Linked DNA regions of Homo sapiens: region 1 is linked to region 2. Evidence: promoter capture Hi-C in human tissues and cell types (Jung and others, 2019). All regions are on one chromosome and are shown on one strand. Each heading gives the region's core, a stretch centred on a gene start or on the middle of the fragment in contact. The rest is flanking DNA. Distances are from core to core; before and after follow the strand shown.

The links. Contacts are between HindIII fragments. The study calls those that stand out against the background at their distance.
Region 1: a fragment that was not itself captured here is called in contact with the fragment with the promoter of MS4A18 in region 2 in 2 of the 25 tissues and cell types used here (liver and thymus).

What each region holds. Positions count from the first base shown.
Region 1 is chr11:60,770,575-60,777,580 of GRCh38, forward strand. It overlaps MS4A15 (membrane spanning 4-domains A15), which reads left to right. Exons shown (of 7, transcript NM_001098835.2): 4 at 717-773; 5 at 2,818-2,910; 6 at 3,263-3,376; 7 at 5,031-6,159. The coding sequence ends at 5,141. Among named protein-coding and RNA genes, the nearest start is that of MS4A10, 11 kb to the right of the region's middle. RefSeq lists enhancers at 3,866-4,497, 4,498-5,127, 5,128-5,757 and a silencer at 4,864-4,983. The HindIII fragment of the contact is 4,967 bases long and covers 270-5,236 here.
Region 2 is chr11:60,719,620-60,726,537 of GRCh38, forward strand. MS4A18 (membrane spanning 4-domains A18) reads left to right here and starts at 5,101. Exons shown (of 7, transcript NM_001354471.3): 1 at 5,101-5,175. The HindIII fragment of the contact is 14,477 bases long and covers 3,937-6,918 here.

The sequences.
Region 1 (7,006 bases), core at 1,503-4,002, 49 kb after region 2:
GTGACAGAGCAAGACTCCATCTTAGAAAATAAAATAAAAAAAAAAAAGCTCCTTGAGGGCAGAGATCTGGTCTGCCTTATTCAACTCTGTTATGTTCCTGGCACATAACTGCCACTCAGAAAATATTTGGTTTTTCTGTTTTTTGTTTTGAGACAGAGTCTCACTCTGTCCCCCAGGCTGGAGTGCAGTGGCACTATCTTGGCTCACTGCAACCTCCGCCTCCCAGGTTCAAGTGATCCTTGCTCCTTAGCCTCCCGAGTAGGTGGGATTACAGGTGCACGCCACTCTGCCCAGCTCATTTTTGTATTTTTAGTAGAGACTGGAGTTTCACCATGTTGGCCAGGCTGGTCTTGAACTCTTGACTTCAAGAGATCCTCCCACCTCGGCCTCCCAAACTTCTGGGATTACAGGCATGAGCTCACTCAGTTCAGCCTCACTCAGTAAATGTTTGATGAGTGAATGTTTGAAGGAACAATGCCTTCCCCATGAGGCCCTGATGATATGACGTCAATGAAAACACTCACCTTGTAAGCCACAGCCCTAGTTCTCTGGACAGGGGACACCCCTGCCGAGAGACCCCAAGGTGCCTGCCTGGCAGAGAAAGTGGCATCAGGAGGCTGTTGTCTCTCCCTGGCACCTCTTGACAGATCCCAAGCAGGGTCTGCCCTGCCCAGGGTCCTGGCTGAGGCCTCACCTGGTCCCCTCTCCCCATACAGTTCATCATCTCCGGATCCCTCTCAGTGGCAGCCGAGAAGAACCACACCAGTTGCCTGGTGAGTGTGAACAGGGGGACCCAGGGGCGGGGATGAAGCCACAGCTAAATCTCACTCTACCCTGCCCCTCCCATCCACTCACTCCTTCAGCTCATTCCCCAGCACTTCAGGGGACCTGCAAAGTGCCAGGGGAGGGGCACCACCCAGGCAGACCAGACGCAGACTGTGCATGTCCAGGAGAAGAAGACAGGGATACTCTTTCAATACACAAGCCAGGGTGGAAAGTGAGGTCCATGCTCATGGTCATTCCGAGAAAGGAAAGATGCTAGAAGATCTCCTGTAAGAGTCCTGCTGGGCCTTGGTGAGCAGAGAGGACTTAGAAATACCACAGGGAAAGCTGGAGAATGCACGGAGGAGTGTGGGCAGGGTCGCCACTGAAACCACGCCTGGCTCCATCCAACGAAGGCAAAGGTAGGAGAAGGAAAGTGGAAAGAAATCAGACAGAGAGATTTAATCCCATGATGGGGCTGGATTGTGGAGGGCTTGGTGCCTTCTGCAGGCACTGGGAGGCGATGGAGGCTTTGAACAGGAGGGTATGAGCTTTATGTCAGGCTCAGAGAACACGGCAATGAAGATCATGAACACGGCAGCGAAGGTCATGAACATAGCAGTGAAGGTCATGGCATTTATCTTCTGGTGCCTTGTAGACACCCGTAAAGCAAACTAACAAAGATGGTTGCCAAGCATGAGAAGTGCTGAAAGGAAGCAGGCAGGATAATATGAGTCATTCTAAGCTCAGCTGGGACGGTCTGGAGTCCCTGAGCAGGTATCACGGAACCGAGTCTTCACAGTTCAGAGGGCAACAACCACGGAAGAGCCCGGTCGGGAAACGCCATGGCTGGACAGGGGACCAGAGTGCTGGACCATCACAGGCAAGGGGTGGGCCGAGAGGGAGAGGCCGGGGAGGTGACTCAGAGCCTAAATGCCAAGTTCAGGATTTGTTTTAAGGACAATGAGAGACCACAGAGGCTTCAGCAGGGAATTCCTTGCCCTGTTTCCATACTTGAGAGGTATCCCAGGTGCTGGGCAGAGAATGGGTTGTGGAGGGGCAGGACTAGAAGCGAGGACTCTCCGGACCAAACCCAGTGTCCCCCGGGCTGTGAGCTCCAGGAGGACAAGACCTGACTTACTCTCTCCTGGACTCACAGCACTTTGCATAGTGCCTGGCATGCAGTAGGTGCTCAATAAAAGCTTTTGGCTTAATCAATTAATGGATTTCTTGTGAGGCTGTTCTGATCTCAATGACCTCCTGATTGCCATTTAAAAAGAAGAATCAGGGGTCTTTAAACCTGAAGAGGTCCTAGAGTCCCCAGCCCACCCATGAATGTTTCCCCTTGGGGCAGTTTAACCAGAAGGCTCCAGCTACGGGTCACGAGACCGTCAGGTTCGGGCTGCACGGGGATGGTGACCCCTGGGTGGCTGCCTGGACCACCCCAGGAGTCACTTGCCCTGCACGCTCTTTAGACCCTGGAGTCCTAGGCCTCTCAGCCCACCCAGACTTCAGACCTTCAGCTCCTGCCTCTCCTGTCTCCCCTGCCTGGTGCCCCACCAGTGTCTGCAGTGCCTCACTCCGCCAGCCACTTCCTGGAACCTCATAGAAATGAACTCAACCCCTCTCCCAACCAGGCCTCAGTGTCCACAGCAAAGAGCCTCCCCCAACCCATGCCCCTGAGCAGGCCTCAGCTGCAGCTTCTCCTGCGAGGTGCTGGGCCTGGGGGAGAGGGAGCCACAGTACGGGGTAAGCTGGAGGCTGCAAACTCCACCCAGAAAGGCTGTAAAGGAGGTGGTGCCCTTCTCCCTAGCAGCTTCCAAGAAGACGAGAGAAGGAAAGAGAGACAACAAGACCTCCTCCCGAGGTCCCAGGGGAGGAGAAGAGAAAAGGGGAGCAGTCAATGAGAACACAGCTGTGTGCAGGGTGGTGTGGCCACTGCCTCCTTGGCTGTGGGAGGCAGCGTGCTGGGGGCTGGGCAGCTGAGCCACAGCCCCTGCCTTTTCTCCTTCTCTTTGCCTATTCCCTCTGCTCCTGTCTCTCTGCTCTCTGCAGGTGAGGAGCAGCCTGGGCACCAACATCCTCAGCGTCATGGCGGCCTTTGCTGGGACAGCCATTCTGCTCATGGATTTTGGTGTTACCAACCGGGTGCGTTGTCAGATGGCCCTCGGGGTGGGAAAACTTGGAAAATGATGCAGCCATGTCCAGGAGGGTAGGGAGGTGAGAGTTTGCAGCGCCAGGACGTTGGCAGGGCCTGCCAGTCCCTATAGACCCCATGAATCCATGGATCCTCTGAGCCTTCCCCAAGATAGGCATCAGAAGGAGCAAGGAGGCAGCCTGCAGGGTGAAGGGGAGGGTGCAGGACTGGCGGCAGGGGGACTGGCTCCAGGCACAGCTCTGCTCCCAACTAGCCGCATGACCTTGGGCAAGTGGTTCTCACTCGGGGGACCCCCTTACTCTAGAACTCTGGGCTCACCTTTCTGTGGGTTTTGGTCCCCAGGATGTGGACAGGGGCTATCTGGCCGTGCTTACTATCTTCACTGTCCTGGAGTTCTTCACAGCGGTCATTGCCATGCACTTCGGGTGCCAAGCCATCCATGCCCAGGCCAGTGCAGTGAGTACCCCCACCCCCACCCCCACGTCCACTAAACCTGAGCTGAGCCTGTGTGGAAGGCAGTTGGCTGGGAGCGCGCTCTGCCTCCAGACCCCTCCCTCTGCACTCTGGGAAGCAATAAGAAGAGACAGCGCTAGGAAGGGTGTCCCATCCATGTCAGGGGGCCCAAAGAAGTCTTTGGGCTGGGCATGGTGACTCACACCCATAACCCCAGCACTTTGAAAAATGAGATGGGAGGATCTCTTGAGCCCTGGAGTTTGAGACAAGCCTGGGCAACATAAAAAGATCCTATCGCTACAAAAAAAAATGTATTTTTAATTAGCCATGTGTGATGGTACGTGCCTGTACTCCTAGCTAGTTGGGAGGCTGAGGCAGGAGGATCGCTTGAGCCCAGGAGGTTGAGGCTGCAGTGAGCTATGATCACACCACTGCCCTTCAGCCTGGGTGACAGAGGAAGGCTGTCTCTAAAACCAAAACAAAACCAAAGACGTCTTCGCAGGTCAGTGAAGACAGGACTGCTCTCCCCGTGGCACTGGGTGCACCAGCACCCACAGGGCCACTGCTCTGTGCAGCCCCACAGGCAGCCTTGCAGAATAGAAGGCCCAGGCTCAGGGCATGGGGGCAGTGCTGCACCCAGAGGAGTGAGACTTTTTGGAGTTCCCAGGCCACATGGGAGACAGGGGCATCAGGGAGGGCAGCATGATAGAGATGGAAATTAAGCTTTGATTTCCAAAAAAAATGGAGGACAGTGATGACAGAAAGGGGCTGGAGGGAGTGTTCAAGGCAGGGGAACCAGTTGGAGCAAAGGCTGCCTCGGGCAGGCAAATGCAGGCCACAGGGTGGGGTGCCCTTGGCAGGTGCACGATGGGATGCATTGAGGGTGAGGGGATTGAAGGTCTGAGCAGGGGAGTGAGCTGGTTGAGGGAAATCAGTCAAGAGGATTTGTCCAGTGCCGGAAGGTGGAGAGGGTGGACAAGCGGGGCTCGAGGCCAGGAAGCTGCAAGGAGGCTGGTGCCACGGTGCAGGCAAGAGAGAGCGAAGTCCTGAACCAGGCCAGGGCAGTCGGGAGAGAAAGAACAGCAGAGCCGGACGTGGTGGCTCATGCCTGTAACCCCGGCACTTTGGGAGGCCGAGGCGGGCAGATCATCTGAGGTCAGGAGTTCAAGACCAGCCTGGCCAACATGATGAAACCCCGTCTCTACTAAAAATACAAAAAATTACCTGGGCATGGTGGCAGGCGCCTATAATCCCAGCTACTCGGGAGGCTGAGGCAGGAGAATAGCTTGAACCCAAGAGGCGGAGGTTGCAGTGAGCCGAGATCACGCCATTGCACTCCAGCCTGGGCAACAAGAGCAAAACTCTGTCTCAAAAAAAAAAAGAAAAGAAAAAAAAGAACAGCAGAACGTTAGCGCCTGGAGAAATGGGACTTTTGTCTGTTTTGTTCACTGCTGTACTCCCAATGCCTGGATCATAGCTGGCCCCAGTAAATGTTGTTTGAAATATTGGTTGCACGGAGAGCCCTGAGCATGCGATTCAGACTTGCGGAATTCAGTACCAGGGCGCTGTTCTCAGATTACCCACAAGGGGGCACTATTGAACCACTACCCTGAAGCTCCAGCGTCCTCCAGGACGCTCAGTGCTGTTTTCTTTGCAGCCTGTGATCTTCCTGCCAAACGCCTTCAGCGCAGACTTCAACATCCCCAGCCCGGCAGCCTCTGCGCCCCCTGCCTATGACAATGTGGCATATGCCCAAGGAGTCGTCTGAGTAGCAGATGTGGCACCTGCGGGTGGAGTCCAGCCTTTTCCCTCTGGGCCCAGCCTCTCCCCACCCCCACCTTGTTCATCAGGGGCCAGCCCCATCCCAGCTGCCCTCCCTCACCACATCTACACATACTCCGGCATCTGAGTGAAGTGTCCCCAGGGACATCTCTCCCACACTTTCCCCAGTGCTTTCTTTCTAAAAGACACCGGGCTGACGTCAGGGGTGTGTGTCCTTCAGCTCCCTGAGCCCTGTCACCCTTCCAGGACACCCACCTTGTGCATCTAAGCATTTCTCTGCTCATTGGGGAAATCCTGGCCTCATTGGAGACTCAGGTTCGAGGCCTGCCCTGACCCTCGGGCCTCGGGAAGGTCAGAGAGCCCGGAATCCTCCAGAATGGAAGAGTCTGACTCTGGCATTCCACAGAGGTGCCGATACCAGGCCAAGGCCTCACAGCAGGGTAGTGGCCTGGCCGCAGGTCTCCTGGCCCCAAGATCAGCTCTGTCCTTTGTCATCTGTTGCCACATCCATGGAACTCAGGTTTCCTATTTGGAAACTAGAGTGTTGAACCAGATAAGGTTCATCAGGCCCTTCCAGCTCCCCAGGCTCCCTGAAGTCCTGGGTCTAGGCCAGGCATTGTCCCCCTGCTTCCTGGAAACCCTCATTTTCCTTGTCTGTAATATGAAGTCAGCATTGGCCCCGCCCCCCACCCCCTACCATCTCCCAATGGAGGGGAGGTTGCAGGGGAGAGCTGCCGCCAGCCCACTCCTGAGGCACCACCACAGTCAGCATCGACAGGGGCACAGCAGTGGCAGTTTGGGACCTCCCTGTGCCTCTCAGCACTCCCTTCCCCACCCCCATAGCCCAAGGACAAGGCTACCACAGAAGGTTACCACAGGACCTGGGCTTCGTCTCCAGGGGACAAGGAGACACTGTCAGCCTGGTGTTCACCAGGCCTGGTAGATGAGATGGCTTGTCTCATCCACACCACAGAAGGAAATAAACCATGTGGCTTAAATTTTGAGCTGGTCTTGTTGCAATGACTTTTTCTTTTTAACCTCAGGGGCTTCCAAGGGTCATCCCATGTTTATCAGAGGACCTGGGTAACTATCCCACTGTCACAAAAGGGCACCTCTGGGTGCCTCGCTCTGTGTGGTGTAATCCTTACACTTACTCTGTCCCCATCTCGGTTCAAACAAACATGCCTTCATATCCCCACTCCACAACTAAGGACACTGAAGCTTAAAGGTGTTAAATTATATGCCCAAGGCCACCGAGCTAGTTAGGAGCAAAACTGGGATCCAAACCTAGTTCCATGTGACGTCAGAGTCCGTGTTCTCACCACTTGGTCTCCCCTTAGTACAAACCTAAGTGCTTCCCACCAACCCCTTTTCCTCCTTCCTTCTGTTTCTTCATCCCCAAAACTAAGGCAGGGCTGCATTCCTCAACACACTCACTTCTTCTTCACCCAACAAACTCCCCCTCCTCCTTTAAGGCCCTATTTAAACGTTGCCCCTTCTGTGAAGTCTTCCCAAAGGAAGGGTGGTCCACGTGGTAGCTAAGTGCCGTGACCACAACACTGGAATGAGGGTGGGGCAAGGGAGGTGCCATTCAAGGGGACATTCACTCTCAGGATCATGCCAGTGCAGAGTTGGTGTAAGGGGTACAACAAGCTTTGGCTTTTACAATCAAGAAAGGAGACTCGAGGATTTAGAGCTTTCAGTTTAAGATCATTAAGTATAGAGTTGGAGGAAATGTACTTGAAGATTTAGGACCAGTTTTCTTGCCATATAAAGGAGACTAGAGACATTTCAGAACTGAGGGGAGGAGTTGGGGGAGAGAGAGGGAGAAAAAGAGAGAGGTTAGCCCCA
Region 2 (6,918 bases), core at 3,851-6,350:
ACAGACTGCCAGAAGCATCAGGCAACTGAGCACTCCCCACCTCCACTACTGAACACTGCCAGCGTGCTGGCCACGGGACTGGTAGTGCTCAATAAATGTCTGTCAAATGAACACAATCTTATGAAAATGGAAGTAATTAACATTTATTGAGTCTTTAATGTCTGACAACTTATTCTGTTCAATGCCCTTTGATAAAAGAAAAACCTCAGCCGAATTAAATTTAAAGGAGTTTAACTGAGCAATGAACAATTCACAAATCGGGAAGCCCCCAGAATCACAGCAGATTCTCAGAGACTCCATGAGTGCCTCGTGTTCAGAACAAATTTATACACAAAAAGGAAACACAATGTACTGGAATTGGAAGTGAGGTACAGAAACAGTGAGATTGGTTATAGCTCCGCATTTGCCTTAGTTGAAGGCAGCTTGAATAGTCAGTGGTCTATGAATGGTTGAAGTATGGCCGCTGGGATTGGCCAATGCTCAGCTATTGTTACTGATGCATACTATTAAGTTAGGTTTTCGATTTTGTCTGACTATTAAGCTAGGTTACAGTTCATCCACAAGGACTCAAATATAGAAGTACAGAGTCCTTCTCAGGCCATATTTAGTTTGCTTTAACACCTTTCAGCTGCATGATCTCATTTTGTATTGCAAAAATACAGAGTGGCATTATCTATGCTTTAGGAAAGAGAAATATGAAAAATCTGGGGCTCAGAGAGGTTAAGTAATTTGCCCAAGTCTGCACTGCTAGTAAATGATAGAGCTGGGTCTTAATTCATGTCTCCTCACTCCAAATCCCATGCTCTTTTGCCACTGCAAAATGTATCTCTCACAGTTCTGGAGGCTGGGAAGCCCAAGACCAAAGTACCAGCAGATTTGGTGTCTGGTGAGGGGCTGCTTCCTGGTTCGTAGACAGCAGTGCTCTCACTATGTCCTCACATGGCAGAGGGGCCAAGGGAGCTCTCTGGAGTCTTTTATTATATAAAGCCACTAATCTTATTCATGAGCCCCTCATGACGTAATCACCTCCCAAAAAACCCACCTCCAAATATCATTACATTGAGGACTAGGTTTTAACATAGGAATTTTAGGATGACAAAAACGTTCAGTCTATAGCACAGAGTACAAAAAGCTTATTGATACAGCTTCAGATTCCACACTGCAAGTAACCTTTCGGGAACTAACACTTGAGTTCGGTGTATCAGGGGTTCTTAAGAAGCGGGAAGAGGTGAATTTGGTAACGTCTGGATGTATTTTTTGTTGCCACAACTGGAGTTGAGGGAAAGGGTGCTATTGGCATCTAGTGGGTAGAAGCCAAGGATAATGCTGAACATCCTACAATGCACAGGACAGCCCCTTCATCAAAGAATTGTCTAGCCCAAAGTGGCATTAATGTTGAGGGCTAAGAAAGAAGACTACCAGTAATTATCTGAAAAGGCTATTAAAATACTCACTTTTCTAACTACCGATCTGATTTTCTTCATATACTTCAACCAAAACAACATATCAAAACAGACAATATATAAGCAGATGTGAAAATCTAGCTCTCTTCCAGTAATCCAAACAGGAAAGAGGTATACATACCTGATATGGTTCAGGTCACACAGCCACAAAATGTAGTGTCCTAGCAACGGTGAAAACAGCAGAAACAGGAAAGTCATGCTCACCTTTCCCTACCACTTCTTCCCTGAAGCAACTCATAAGACCCTAATTCGAAAGGTACCCTCCCAACCCTTTGGGAGGCTGAGGCAGGAGGATCACCTGAGGCCAGGAGTTCGAGGCTGCAGTGAGCTATGATTGTATCACTACATTACAGCCTAGATGACAGAATGGGAGCTCAAAGACAAAAAAAAAAAAAAAAAGTAGAAAAGAAAAGTGCCCTCCCTACACCGAGAGGAAAGGAACATCCTTATCTCTGAATAAATGTGGTTACAAAATGATATTAAACAAATAGGCCTTGCTAATTTCATCCCAGTTTATTACCATTAAGTCATGGTTTTTTATTTAATCATACTTCACAATTATTCACGTCCTCATCAAACCTAGCATAAAAAGTACACAAGTTTATCTGTTTCTTCAGGTCTTTATTTCCTTATGAAGACCATCACATCAAGCAAAACTTATATTAAATAAATGTGTATGCTTTTCTCTTGTTAATCTGTCTTTTGTCAAAAGGCCCTTGGCCATAAATGTAGTGATGGTTGAAGAAAAGGTATTTCTCCTCTCCTATGAACCTATAAAACAATACCACTCTTCCCACTAATTTTTTTTCATTTTGGAAAATAGAATTATTTTTTATTTAAAAATATTTATGTTAATATGTAATAAATATTTTATTTTAAAATAGATTAGTAAATCATTTTTAAGTATCTCCATTTTAATTTCTAATATGGTATAAATATCAACAAATTTAACCCACATAAACAAGTGTTCTTCGAGAGTACTTAATAACTTTTAAAAATGCAAAGGACTCCTGAGACCAAAGAGTGTGGGTCCTGAGACCAGAGTTTATGCTGTTATTCTCCTCCTCAAAGCCCTGCAAGGGTTCCTAGCATCCACAGAATAAATTCCTGACCATGGCATTCAAGACCCTGTTCAGCTGCCCTTCAATCCCTCTTCCCACAATGTCCAAATCCCAGTTGTCCAGCCTCTCTGTCAATGGCTCCTACCTTGAACTCACCAAATTCAGGCATCCATTCACTCATTCATCAAATGCCAAGCACCTGCCTCTGCAGGTAAGAACCACATCCCACCCCTTAGGAGCTCAGAAGCTCATAAGGAAGGATACACACATACTCGGATAACAGTGGGGCAAGGATGCAGGAGAGGTTCCGACAAAACGCTATGGGAGCCTGTAATCCCAGCACTTTGGGAGGCCAAGGCAGGTGGATAGTCTTAGGTCAGTCTGGCCGACATGGTGAAACCTGGTCTCTACCAAAAGTAAAAAATGGGTCTGGTGTGGTGGCAGCCACCTGTAATCCCAGCTAACCTGTAATCCCAGCTACCTGGGAGGCTCAGGCAGGAGAATCGTTTGAACCCAGAAGGCGGAGGTTGCAGTGAACCGAGATTGTGCCACTGCACTCCAGCCTGGGTGACATGAGGGTGAATGAGGGCGAATGAAGCTCCTTCTCAAAAAAAAAAAGGTATGAGAGTTTGGAGTAGGATGCTGTCAAGGGACAAAGCACTTATTTTTTTCAAGTGGCGGCAGGTTTCCTTAGGAAATAACTGTTTTTGGCTCTTTTGGGGTATGGGAAATGAAGCCCTCCTCCCATCCCAAGAAATGACCAGGTTGGGGAGGGTAAAACAGAGAATTGTTCTGCACAATATTGCAGGAAGCATCTGGAAATTCTGAGGGCAGCTCTGCAGGGGCCGGAGGACGAGGCTCTAGGATGGGAAGAAAAGGAAAGAGTGGAGAGGAAGAGGATGGGGCCTAGAAGCATGGAGGAAGGCCAGGGTCCTGGAGAAGAAAGGGCCCAGCTGAAGTTCTCTGTGACAGGAACGAGCAAGGGACTAAGATCAGAGACATCCAGCACTTGATGTTTAGTTCATTGCTCTGTTTTGGGGCATTGGCATCTTTCCCACCCCCTACACTTTAGTAAAATTCCGCTACACAGAACCACTTTGTGTGAGTAAAGCTGTAGGAAAATCAAGGAAGGGAGAGTTTTCTAGTGCTGCCATAACAAAGGACTACAAACTGGGTGGCTTGTTAATTCAACGTATCGTCTCACAGATCTGGAGACTGGAAGTCTGAGATCAAGGTGTCAGCAGGGTGGGCTCCTTCTGGGGCTGTGAAGGACTCCATTCCAGACCTCCCTGCAGGCTTCTGGTGGTCCGTGGGCATCTTGGCCACTCCTTGGCCTATAGATGCATCACTCCAGAGTCTGCCTTCATGTTCATGCAGGCTTCTTCCTGTGTGCAAGTCTGTGCAATATCCCCTTTTTACAAAAACACCAGTCATAGTAAATTAGGGCCCCTTTTAACCTAATTACTTTTGCCATGAAACTATCTCCGAATAAAGTCACATTCTGAGATACTAGATGAGGGGTTAAGACTTCAGTATATCTTTTTGGAGGGTTCCATTTCAACCCACAGCAGGAGATGTGTTCCAGGACTGAGTTCATGTGGGGTGGACAAACAGCCGTAAAAGGGGAGATGTGAGGGAGATCAGGAGTGTATAGGAAATTGAGCAAGGAAATTGACTATGTAAAGCGTAATCTACATGAAGAAATCCTCCAACTTATTGGGAATGGAGCTACTATATATAGGATGGCGGCTTTAGCCAGTTCATGTAAACTAAAGGAAAGGGTGATTCTATAAGGCTGGAAAAATTGGAGACACACACACACACAAACATCACAGGCAGCTCACATTTGGGGCATGTGGGTTCCAAAGAGATTTAGTTTGACTGTAAAGTTCAGGGAAGGCTTTGTGGAGGAAGAGGCTTCAGGATGAGCGTTGGAGGATGGGGTGAATCTGGACATGCTCCCACACCTCTGGTTCACACTCTTCTGGAATACACTGTGCCTTCAGTGCAGCTTTGATCCAGTCTTTCTTTCAATGTCCAACTTGAGTTAGATGTCCAATTCCATGTCCAGCCACTCGACAAACCTCCTAGGACCAGCCCATCCCTTTGACACATCTCCCAGCCACATCATCCCTGATGGTCTGACTGAATATTTGTTTGTTCCTATCCATACTTGCACTAGAGTTATCCCAACAGTGGTTATATTCTGTCTCGTCAACTCCTTGCAAATTCTAGAGCACCTCGTATCCTAGCATACCACCTAGCACACACCAGACACTCAATAAATGCTCACTAATTGCTTATAAGGGAAATCTATTGGCTCAGAAAATCTTGACCCACTTCTGGATTTCTCACTTTCTCAAAGAGAAACTTTGGAAGGAGATCCCATGGAATCCTACTTTAGCCAAGGCCATAAATACTCTGAGGGGCAAATAAACAGCGTGGATGCCAGAGAATAGACGTATTGACTCCAAATGAAACTGCAAAGAGGACTTTGGAGCTTGAAAGGGAAACCTAATTTGAGTTTATTTTCTAGATGATTAACATTAAATAGTGCCAATCCATCAGCTAGCACCAGAATTTCTAGATCAGGCTGCAGAAACCCACAGAGCCTGAAGAAAGAGCATCCAAAGACTTCCCAGGAGCACAAGGTAAGACTTCTGTGAATTCTTCCGCAAGACTCTGACAGAGCCTGGATAGCACCAGCAGAGACGTGGACCTAGGCGGTCCCTCGGAAGTGTCTCTTGAGAACCACAAGGAATCAGGGGTTCAGACATAGGGTAGTGCCCTCCAGCAAGACAGGCGTGCAGCCACCCATCCTTGGAGGTGCTGGGAGGCTGGGAAGTAACTGAAGAGTCACAACAGGTTCTCAAATTGAGCTCCTGTCTCTGCATGGACACAGCAATCTTAAGATAGAAGGCTGGAGACTCTGCTAGGCATTTTCTGGCTGCCTTGCTCCCTAAGCCCAGCTGTAGGCACACTGTGATCAGGTCTACTTAGGACCTCAATCTAGAACTGGTGGAATGGCTTCTGATGGAACCACTCTTTTTTTTCTTCTTCTTCTTTTTGAGACGGAGTCTCGCTCTGTCACCCAGGCTGGAGTGCAGTGGCGCGATCTCGGCTCACTGCAAGTTCCACCTCCCGGTTTCAGGCCATTCTCCTGCCTCAGCTTCCAGAGTAGCTGGGACTACAGGCGCCCGCCACCACGCCCGGCTAATTTTTTGTATTTTTTAGTAGAGACAGGGTTTCACCGTGTTAACCAGGATGGTCTCGATCTCCTGACCTCGTGATCTGCCCGCCTTGGCCTCCCAAAGTGCTGGGATTACAGGCAGAACCATTCTCTTTGTTCCTGACATTTTCCTGACGGGAGGTAGAATCTCAGGGGTCCCAGGAACATCCCTCATAGGGCCCAACTGTTTGTGCCAATTGTCAGGTCTACGGCTGTATTGTTTTTCACACATTAAAGAAGGAGTCCTCTGAAAAAAAGGAAGAGAGAAATGATTAATTTTTTAATATCATGAAGCAGAGTATAACATTTAGCACAGTATTCATTATGAAAATTGAAGGCAGGCAGACTATCAATTCTTGTATTTCAAATCTCAACTTCAGCATTTCCTAGCTGTGTGACTATGGTCAAGGCACTTAACCTCTCTGAGCCTCAGAGAGTTTGCCCGAGAAATGGTCATAACAATAATATATTGCTGGGGGAACTGCCTTATATCTACAGGGTTATGAGGCATCAACATCCAAGGATGCTGTAGTTGTTATTCTAAACCACTCTCCTGGGAAATCTGTTATTCTTCAAGAAAGCAAGGAATGTCAAGGTCTAATGCAGAAGTGGCTCACACTGCCTGCACAGCCTCCATTCATGCAGCTGAATGTTCCACCATCCATATGTCACTGGTAGAACATTTCTTCTGGGAAATGAAAACATAGTGAAATGCAAATAGCAGTCAGAAAAAAATAAATTTGAGTCTCAGATCTATTCCTGTGGGTTGCATAATTGTAGACAAGTTATTCCACTTTCAGAGCCTTGGTCTCCCTACTTTGCAAAGAGGCGGGTCGGATCAAAATGAGTGAGAAGACAGGGGTGAATGCCTTAGCCATCAGGTGTCAGACCAGTGACAGTTGTTTTTCCTATGGAAGAGTAGCATGGAAAGGGGCCTCAGAGACCAGCTAGATTTTAAAATAAGGAAAAAGCTGGGAATTTTCTGAAGCTTTATATAACCAATATTTTGAACTGTTGGGATCCAAGGAAAAAGAAGTGAAACCACAAAGGAGAAGTGTAGGGCATTTCTGCATGGAAGTGGTTCTCAAACTTCAGCAGCATGAGATTCACCTGGAGGGTGTGTTGAAACACAGATGGCTGATCCTTGCCCCTGGACTTTCTAGTA